Linked DNA regions of Homo sapiens: regions 2 and 3 are each linked to region 1. The links are contacts of gene promoters, found by promoter capture Hi-C in human tissues and cell types (Jung and others, 2019). All regions are on one chromosome and are shown on one strand. The core of a region is centred on a gene start or on the middle of the fragment in contact, and the rest is flanking DNA. Distances in the headings are between cores, read along the strand shown. Region 1 holds the start of GPRIN3 (GPRIN family member 3). Region 2 overlaps LOC105377328 (a long non-coding RNA gene). Region 3 has its middle 36 kb from the start of TIGD2.

The links. Contacts are between HindIII fragments. The study calls those that stand out against the background at their distance.
Region 2: a fragment that was not itself captured here is called in contact with the fragment with the promoter of GPRIN3 in region 1 in 3 of the 25 tissues and cell types used here (H1 embryonic stem cells, hippocampus and liver).
Region 3: a fragment that was not itself captured here is called in contact with the fragment with the promoter of GPRIN3 in region 1 in 1 of the 25 tissues and cell types used here (liver).

What each region holds. Positions count from the first base shown.
Region 1 is chr4:89,305,995-89,309,482 of GRCh38, forward strand. GPRIN3 (GPRIN family member 3) reads right to left here and starts at 1,806. Exons shown (of 2, transcript NM_198281.3): 1 at 1,621-1,806. RefSeq lists silencers at 1,756-1,805, 1,816-1,885. The HindIII fragment of the contact is 18,564 bases long and covers 1-3,488 here.
Region 2 is chr4:89,457,084-89,460,571 of GRCh38, forward strand. LOC105377328 (a long non-coding RNA gene) reads right to left here. Exons shown (of 4, transcript XR_938981.2): 4 at 1-3,134. Among named protein-coding and RNA genes, the nearest start is that of GPRIN3, 150 kb to the left of the region's middle. The HindIII fragment of the contact is 4,473 bases long and covers 1-3,488 here.
Region 3 is chr4:89,145,957-89,149,444 of GRCh38, forward strand. No RefSeq gene overlaps it. Among named protein-coding and RNA genes, the nearest start is that of TIGD2, 36 kb to the left of the region's middle. The HindIII fragment of the contact is 5,835 bases long and covers 1-3,488 here.

The DNA.
Region 1 (3,488 bases), core at 556-3,055:
TCCTCTGCTGTTTCCAAAATAAATTTCAATCATATAACATCTAGGCCTGCAATTGCAATTGCTGTTTTTTTTTTCTCTTTTGAATCAATAACCTATTCCCTCGATTAAAGACACACAAAACTTGAAAAACTAAACACACACAAAAACTCGAAAAAGAACATTCTCTAACGCAAACTCCTGTCTTTTGCAGATAGCAGCAGAGATTTTCTGCTTTGGGCTGTGACTCATGTACCTTTATTCCCACAATTGTTACTCAGGGCAGGCCAATGGTGAGCACAATGGGAAAAGAAAGAATAGGTTATAACTGGAAAATAAGCACATTCGGGCGAAGTACACTCAAAGCATTATCAAAGTAAAATATGCAGCAGCACCAACAAGAGCAAACAAAAGCCCACGCAGGAGATGTGTAAATATTTCATGAAGCAAAGCCTTAATCAACCCTCTCTCCCAAATCTTGCTGGTGTTGTAAACACTTCAGTTTCTTCTAGTCCCACCATGACCCAGATACCTTGCAAAAACAAAATAAAAACATAGTCCAATGGATCTTTAAACAAATGTGTTGTGAAAATATTTAGATGGAGCATACCCAAGTACCGCTTTAACCAAGAGGAAGAAGACACCTTACTCAAAGGTGGGTGCTTCTTGAGTGACTGCTCAGAGCTCTGTTTCTCCCCTCCCCCTCCAAGCCCTTGCCTTTTGCCCACCTCCTCGGCTGCTTTGTGGACATTCACATCGTCTTAACCTTGAACTGCCTACACCCCAAGCGGTGATTTCTCCCAATGGCCCTCCAGAAAGCCCTTGAAACCTGGTCTGGATTCGATGCCTTCCCATCACCCAAAATTCACTTCCCAGTGGCATATTAAGTACCTCTCCTTTTTTCCCTCTTTCACTGTCCATTATTGCGTCTGAAATGATGCCTACATCGTTTCCATCTGCCTGGAGAGCATGAAGATCTTCTGTGTGTGTTGGCTGACAGGCTCCTTCAGACCTCTTCTAAAGCCCATCTTGAAAGAACCGTTTATCACCTCTAGTCTCTACCCTGATTTAATGTGGTTCCAAAGTTCGCCTCTATTAGTGAACATGTCTCTACAACGATTTCCCTTTATCAACCCCTGCCCGCCCTTCCTCTTCTTTCTGCCTACCTCAAGAAAACCTATTTACATATGCATTTATGTATGTGTGTGTATATACACACACATACATACATCCATATGTAATATATATTTCTATGTTTTGACCTTAAAGGGGATAAGCATAGGAAAATGAGACAAATGTCACACACACACACACACACACACACACACCCCTCATATTCGGATATTCGCAGTGTGCAGACCCGATTGATTATAAATTTCCCTGCCCACGATCAGCAGGCGTCTTCTCCCATTTACCTTCAAAGCCAGAGCCAAAGAGAGCAATGACCTTGCAGAGAAATTCATCACCTGCGAGAAAGACTGCCCCTCCTAGAGCGCAGGATGGGACAGAGACAAGAGCAACAGGCAAAGGATCCCTGTGCAAAATGTGGGACCGAATCCCTTCCGCATCCCTACAGAGCACACCACCAGGCTCCGGTCCCCCGCGCTGGCCGCCAGGCGGAGGTGCGCAGGGGGCGTCTCCTACCTGCTCTGCCCGGCTCCGCGGCGCGGCGGGGCCACTGCCTGCGCTGTGGCGGGGGCTTCCCGTCGCATATCCCAAGCACCGTCTCTCGGCGCCACACCGATGGCTCCGGCGGGCCCGCGAGCTGAGGTCCTTCTCAGCCCGGTCCCGGAGCGAGCTCCGTGCGTTCAGGAACTGAAATTACTATGCCAAGAGCAGAGGCGGCGCGCAGCAGTCGGGCGTAGACCGAGGGGGCTGCCCCCACCGCGGGGCTGCAGACGCCGCCGCCGCCCCCGCCGGGCGCAGAGCCAGTTTGGAGGTGAGAGTTCACTTGCCCGACTGTTCATCCGTCAGGCCCGGGGTGTACCCATCTGTCCAGCGCTGCCCAGCCTGAGCATCCGAGAGAGGGGCGACAGCTTTGCAGGCGGCGGCGGCGGCAGCAGCAGCGGCGGCAGCAGGAGGCCGAGCTCCGCCCCCTCCAAACCCCCTCCCCCGCCTTCCCGGTCCTGGGGGAAAGTGTTGCAGCCCAGGCTGCTGAGCGCCGGGCCGGGAGCTAGGAGGGGTCTGGTGGGTTGTGGTTCTGCACCCCTGGAGACCAGAGACAGATGGAAAGTTAAGAAGGGATTAAGGAAGAGGGCTGGGGACCCAGAGCGATTTAGCAGGCATTCTGGCCCTTGCTCCCTCCCACAGGTCACCAGACTCCATGGCTGAGTCTAGACTCTAGCAGAAGGTTTCCAATAAAGCCACGTGCAGTGGAGATCTGAAAGCAAGATCATCCGATAAGTAATATGTTTTGCAAAATGTACAGTATCCTGCGTATTCGGAGAGGCACTGCTGACAGTGTTCCTGTCCCCATCCCCTTCCCGCTACCCCATGGGCTTGGAGGGCTTTGAGGGCTTTGGAAATCTTCCCTGTTGAGCAGCTCCAGAATCCTGAATGGATGTGTAGTATGGTTAGCAGCTGTAGATGGTGCAAAATGATACGATGAAAAGAGCTTCATTATTAACTGGGTATTTGTTGGAAGGCTCTGTGAAAAATGCCTTACATACAGCCTCAGCCTCTTTAATTCTTACTACAACCCATTGAGGTGCCTTACCATGTGGACGAGGAAACAGGCTTATATGATCTAAACACTTTGCTTGAGGTCACACAGTAGTAACCTGCTCAGCTGGGATTCAAACCAATCCAAAATATATCCTCTCATCTAGTACACAGGACTCACCTAGGGGGTCTTGTTAAAATGCTGATTGTGATCCAATAGGTCTGGGGTAGGGACTGAGGAAACGCTTTTTTAGTTTTTTGTTGTTGTTGTTTTTTGTTTTTTGCTTCGTCTCCTAGGCTGGAGTGCAGTGGCGCGCTCTCGGCTCACTGCAAGCTCCGCTTCCCGGGGTCAAGCGATTCTCCTGCCTCAGCCTCCCAAGTAGCTGGGATTACAGGCGCCCACCACCACGCCCGGCTAATTTTTGTATTTTTAGTAGAGACAGGGTTTCTCCACGTTGGCCAGGCTGGTCTGGAACACCTGACCTCAGGTGATCCGCCCGCCTCGGCCTCCCAAAGTGCTGGAATTACAGGCGTGAGCCATGCCTGGCCCAGGATAGGCATTTCTAACAAGCTCCCAGGTAATGCCCATGCTACTGGCCAAAAGATCAAACTTTGCGGCACTATTCACAATAGCAAAGACTTGCAACCAACCCAAATGTCCGTCAATGATAGACTGGATTAGGAAAATGTGGCACATGTATACCATGGAATACTATGCAGCCACAAAAAAGGATGAGTTCATGTCCTTTGTAGGGACATGGATGAAGCTGGAAACCATCATTCTTAGCAAACTATCACAAGAACAAAAAAACAAACACCGCATGTTCTCACTCATAGATGGGAATTGAACA
Region 2 (3,488 bases), core at 594-3,093, 150 kb after region 1:
TCCAGGTCCCAGGATAACCCTACAGGTGTGATTGTTGGAACTCTGCAGGCATCTGGTTTACCACAATGAATGGGCTAGAGAGTCAGTGAGTACACCCAAGGGGAGCAATGGGAATCTGACCCACTCAAGTTCTACTATGGGCTCCTGCCTGGATAACACTGCAGACTCTGGCTGATTCCAGCCACCAGGGTGCGACTGTAAAAATTTTAAAAAGGCACTCTGAAGTGGCAGAATTGCAGGGCAGAGAAAGGAAAATAGGTGTGGGCTACTAGGATCTCTTTCTACCCACAGAACACTTCTTCTCATACCAAAAGTATGGGGGTTTTCCTCAAACCAACAACCAATTCTCCAACTGTAGGACACCATTGAGTGTCCTACAATTTAATTCAATTGTGATGCTAACTACCTGGAATTAGGATCAGCTCCCACAATTTAAGGGCTCAGTCACACCACGGACTCCACTGTTTAGGGTTTTTATGCAATGTCCGTTATGTAGGCATGACTGAGTAGATCATTGATCATTGATAATTAACTCAATTTCCAGCCCCTCTTATCTCCCCAAAGGCTGGGGGATGGGGCTGAAAGTTTCAACCTTCTAATCAATGGTTGATTCCTGTAGCAACAAGCTCTCATGCTGAAGCTATCTGGAAGTCCATCAAAAGTCATCTTATTAGTAGAAACTCAGGTATGGTTGAAAGAGGCTTATTATGAATAACAAAAGATGGTCCTCTGACCCCTATCTCTCAGGAACTTCCAAGGGTTTTAGAAGCTCTGTGTCCAGAATTGGGCATAAAGACCAAATATTATAACAAAATACAAGGGTTTTAGAAGCTTTGTGCCAGGAACTATGGATGAAGCCCAACTATATGTTTCTTATTATATCACAATATCAAGAGGTCCAGGTCAGTGGGCCCACTTATTTGGGTGGAAGGGAGGTAGTGAAAGTTTTAATGATCACTTAGGGGACGGTGACCTAGCCCAAGCCAACGAGAATGATTCCTTGAGTTTTGCTTGAATTATTGGGGAAGAAATTTCTTCCCACTAAAAATTTTAAATTCGTTAAATATAAGCTTATAGATGTTATTGCCCATCTTCGTTACCACTGAGATGAATATAATTGAGAAAGAAGCCAGCAAAGTGCAAAACAAAACCAAGAAGTAGAGAGGAAAAATTAGTATTCCTGAAGACAATGATTAAACTACTGGGTCAAACCATACTGCCCCTAGTTTATTCCAGAAATTTACAGGTATATGAGCCAGTGTGTTTCCTTATTCACTTAAACCAGGTAGATTTGGACTTTCCTTACTTGAAACAGAGAGCTTTCACTCAGAGGCACAAGGTTTTTATCTTTGTCATTTCCTCTTGGGTGAGGATATTGTGGGCTGTTTTCAGTAGGACTGCTCCTCCCTGCCCAAGTCATGGAGCAGAGCAGAGTCTAAAATGTGACAGACTCTCAGGGAATGATAGTGACTTTTACGCCCATCTAAATTTGTTGACAGGATATATTTGTGGGGCCACAAGAACTATGAAACATGAATGTGGAACTCAAGCAAAATATCCAGATTAAGATGTAAGTTTTGGAAGCATTGTCATCATAGGAAGTTAAGTTTAGGCATTGTATGAGATATACAGTAAGAAGAAATGCTTGGGCTTGGACATAGACTATAGGAAGCTAATACTTAACAGGGAGCTAGAAGAAAAGAGTTAATGAAAATGAAAGAGACTGATCTGAGAAGTAAGAGAAAACCCAGGAGTGAACAATGAAGGAAAAAAAAAGAAGAATGGTTTGTGTGATCAAAAGTAGAGGAGAAATGACATGAGGCTCTTGGATTTAGCATTTAAATATTGAATTTGGCAACTTGAGTTAACTAAAGACCTTTAAGAGAGGAGTTTTGTTAGAGGAAAAAGATGAAAAAAGATTTTAGAGGTTGAGGGGCACACGAGTGTATCAATTAAGTTTGGCTCAAATAAAAACAATAATTTGTGTATACATAAAATCTTAAAATATATTTCTTTTACTGAGGAATTTTTAATATTAACAATGATTGCATTTTTCTCTAATATCAACTTGAGATTCATTTCTGTGAATTTTATTTGACTGCACGACCTTAAAAATAATTAGTAAATAATTCCTATTTATCTAAGGAATTCCTAAGCTTATCAGAAGTCATAAAATCAGAAAACAACTGAACTTCCATACACTTCTTACACATATTCTTGCATAGATAAACATGTATATAAAAGATCAACTAATTAAAATCAATGTGGTATATGCACTGAACTATATTTTCTTAAAATGTTGTATATTTTTTGAAATTAAAGTTTAAAGCTTTAAATAACACAGTAGTCCCCCCTTAGGCACAGTTTTGTTTTCCACAGTTTCAGTTACCCAAGTTAACTGTGGTCTGAAAATATTAAATGGAAAATTCTAGAAGTAAACAATGCATACATCTTAAATTGTGCATCATTCTAAGCAGCATGATGAAATCTTGCAATGGCCCATGCTGTCCCTCCTGAGGCTTAACTTCCCTTTGTCTGGCATTGTCCATTATCACTTAGTAGCTATCTTGGTTATCAGATCAATTGTTGCAGTATTGTATCCCTGTGCTCAAGTAACTCTTACTTTACTTAATAATGGCCCTAAAGCACAAGAGTACTGTGCCTAATTTATAAATTAAACTTTATCATAAGTATGTATGTATAGGAAGAGACATAGTATATATAGGGTTTGGTACTATGTACAGTTTCAGGCATCCATAGAGGGTCTTGTAAAATAGCTCCTGTAAATTGGGGTGGGGTCTACTGTGTTATCTAATCTTACATAGTTTATGACTTATATGAAGATTTACATGCATTCAATGGTATATTAATACATAAAAGCAGCTAAAGTACAAGTAAAAATAGACTATTGGTAACTTAAAAGAAAACCCAGCCAAATAATAATGAAGCAAAACAAAAAGGTAGATGCTCATTTCACTCTTTTATGAAAGGTATCAGGAGAGCTGGTATGGAACTCCGTGGTTATCCGGTTCTCAGTCTCTTTTATCTTCCTACTCCACTGTGTTTCGCCATGGCTATCATTGTGAAGGTTTTTTCATTGTCCAAGATGGTTGCTGGAGCTCTGGCCACTGCGCCTGTATTCCAGACAGGAGGAAGGAGAAAGAACTAATGGCAAGAAGGTACATGTCAATATTGTAAACTTAGTTTATGACACTTTTTTAAAAAAGTCCACCTAACCTCTGCTTAGAACCCATTGAAGATCAACAGTGGTCAGAAAGACTGGGAAATAAAATATTTCAGGTGGGCATTGATCAGGGAGCAGTTAGGTACAAAGAACAGGAGTGTGGATACAAGATAGGCAGCTAGAACTCTCTATCTCAATGAGGACTGGTATAGGATGAATGAAAATGCACTATATTTTCTAAGAAGTTTGGCAGAGATTATGAGGAAGTATGTTGAATAGAACTGGAGAGAATGGAAATTTTTAG
Region 3 (3,488 bases), core at 739-3,238, 160 kb before region 1:
TATTGTTTGATGAGATAAATGAGCTGGAGCATTGTTGTGGTGGAGAAGGACTGTTGTAAAGATTTCCTGGGCATTTTTTTCTGCTAAAACTTTGACTAATTTTCACAACACACTCTCATAAGAAGCAGATGGTATTGTTCACTAGCCATCCAGAAAGTCAACAAGAAAAATGCCTTGAGCATCCTGAGAAATGGTTACCATCACCTTTGCTCTGGACCAGTTTTGCTTTGACTGGACCACTTGCACCTCTTGGTAGCCATTACTTTGATTGTGCTTTGTCTTCAGTCATGTTCTATCTCCTGTTACAGTTCTTTTAAAAAATGCATCAGGATTTTGATCTCACTTTAAATTTCCCTTGAAAGCTCTGCCTTTGTCTGCAGCTGACCTAGGCACAACAATTTTGGCATCTATTGCGTGGAAAGTTTGCTCAACTTTAATTTTCAGTCAGAATTGTGTAAGCTGAACCAGTTAAGATGTCGACAGTGTTGTCTGTTGTTTCTCCTGTTAATAATCAATTCTCTTCAGTTACAGCATGAACAAGATTAATTTTTCCTGACAAATTAATGTGGATGGTTTGCCACTGTGGGGTTCATCTTCAACATTGTCTCATCCCTTCTTAAAACCAGTTATCCATTTGTAAACTGCTGATTTCTTTAGGCCATTGTTCCCATAAAGTTTTTTTTTTGTTTTTTGAGACAGAGTCTCGCTGTCACCCAGGCTGGAGTGCCGTTGGCACAATCTTGGCTCACTGCAACCTCCGCCTCCCAGGTTCAAGCAATTCTCCTGTCTCAGCTTCCTGTGTAGGTGGGACTACAGGCACCCGCCACCATGCCAGGCAATTTTTTAGTAGAGATGGGGTTTCACCATATTGGTCAGGCTGGTCTTGAACTCCTGATCTCAGGTGATCCTCCCACCTTAGCCTCCCAAAGTGCTGGGATTACAGGTGTGAGCCACCGTGCATGGCCATAAACTTTTTTGTAAATCATCAATGATTTCACCATTCTTCCACCAAAGCTTCATCATAAATGTGATGTTTGTTCTTACTTCAGTTTCAACAGAATTCATGTTGCTCTGTAAGGGGCTCTTTTCAAACTGATGTCTTACCCTCTTAGTGCCTCAAACTAAATCCTGTTCAGACCTGTTATGACAAGTTAGTATGAGTTTGTTTTGGTGCAAAAAAGTTTGAAGTCTATGAATATTTTTTTCATAATATACCTTTTCCTTGAAGTTTTTGAAGTTATTACTAAACACATCAGCCAGCCTTTAAAAAATAATCTGTACAGTTCTTCTCTTTTGCTAATTAACATTTTGATTTCTGATATGCACAAATGACTGTTTTTATGTCATATCATGGTAATATGTTTTGCTTCACCACTAGAATATAAATGCAAGGATATTTCATGGTAATTAAGAGCACAACTTTTTGTGCCAGACTACTTGGTTCAAATCCTAGTTTTGCCACTTAATAGTTGTGTGGCTTTGATCAAGTTACTTAATCTCTTTGTGCCCCAGTTTCCTCAACTGTAAAATGAGAATAACAATAATACTTATACTGTAGAGTGATAAAAGGAATTATTAATTAATACAGGTCAGACATTTAGAACAGTATTTCAAAACTAGTAAGCTCTAAAAAAATCCACACTTTTATGAATATGAATATTTATTCCTACAATACTTTATTTACAAAGATATTGATCCAGCCAGCTAGGCAAAAATTCATCTTAATCAATATCTCTAAATTTCCTGATGGTTCCAATAAACTATATCTTGCCTTTTGTATTAGTCTGTTCTCCTGCTGCTAATAAAGACATACTCAAGATTGGGAAATTTATAAAAGAAAGAGGTTTAATGGATTCACAGTTCCATTGCAGGATCTTTCGGATATTGCTTTTCTGGCTGGAAACCTTTGTGGCTGGTGCACCTTTGCTTGAGTTCTTGTCCTGTGTCCAGGAAGAATAAGGTACTCAGACAGGGTGGAAGGTGAACAAGATGAAGAGGAGCTTTCTTGAGTATTATAACAGCTCAGAGGAGACCTGCGGTGGGTGGCTCCTCTCTGCCAGCAGGTCATCCCATTGTCTCTGCAGCTCTCAGTGAAGAGGGCAGCTCCTCTCTGCAGCTGGTTGTCCCATTGTCTCTCCATCGTCTGCCCTGCTCTGGCTGAGCCCAGGGTTTTTATGGGGCCTCAGAAGAGGCAGAAGTGTGGGCTGATTTGTCCAGGGACAGCCATGGGTGGGCTCAGGAAAAAGCACCATGAGTTCCTCCTCTGGTCTGCAGAACTGGCATCCCAGCCCCAGGCTTCAGGCCTATCCTAGCCTGAAGGTAGACTTCACTGGGGACCCACCTCCTTCCACCCAGGAGCATGTCTGTCTCCCCAGTCATCCATGGGGCCCAGGCTGCTGGCACCAAGGGGCAACTGCAGGCCAGTGCCCAGCCATCCTCAGTGCCCCCTCAGCTTCCCTTCCCATGTTCCTACATGCCCAAAGTCTGAAGAGGACTGAGGCATCAGGGGGCTGGCATGTCAGCACTGCCCTGAACGTGTGCACACCCATCTGGGCTGTGACAACATCCAGGCTTGGCCCCAACCCTACTTGGAGATGCCCAAGGAGTGCGGGTATCCCTGGGTTTGCCAATGGGCTGCAGCTGCTTGCAGGGAGGCGGGGTGGGGGGCAGCTGCAGCTATGCAGGGCTTGGCTCCTGCTTATTCTCAGCTTCCAAGAGCACAGGTATGCCCAATTGCAGCTGCAGCTTGGGCAGCTGCAGTTGCACTGGGGGAGCTCCCTCTCTGCCAACTTGGAAGAGGCAGGGCCCCTGCTTGTCCCCGGGTCCCACCAAGATCTATGGAGCATGGCACCTAGCCGCAACCCCTTTCAGCCTGGGATGGGGCGCCAGGTCCTCACTGGGCCTGAGCTGGTATCTGGGGCAGGGCAATGTTGACACAAGCTCCTCATGTGGCTCCAGTGCTCCGGGGCAGCATGGAGCTCCCCCTTGCCCTCATGTGATCCAGCCCCATTACGGTGGCCCCCAGGATGGCAGGCTGCGGAAAGGGGACTGTCTGCCTCCTATCATGCCCTCCCTGTAGATGCCGGTGTGATGGCAGTGGCCTCACCAGATGGCCCACTGCTGCCATCAGTTCCACATGGCTGGGGAGGACTCACGATCATGGTGGAAGGCAAAGGAGAAGAAAAGGCATGGCTTACCTGGTGGCAGGCAAGAAAAAGCGTGCAGGAGAACTCCCCTTTATAAAAGCATCAGATCTAGTGAGACTTATTCACTATCACAAGAACAGCATGGGAAAGACCCACCCCCATGATTCAATTACCTCTCACCAGTTCCCTCCCATGACACCTGGGAGCTATGGGAGCTACAATTCAAGATGAGATTTGGGTTGGAACACAACCAAACAATGTCACCTATACAAGTGATGAAAGTCCTGTATGACATTTATTTCAGTTCCTGGTCTTTGACAAAACTTTAAATCTAGTGTACTC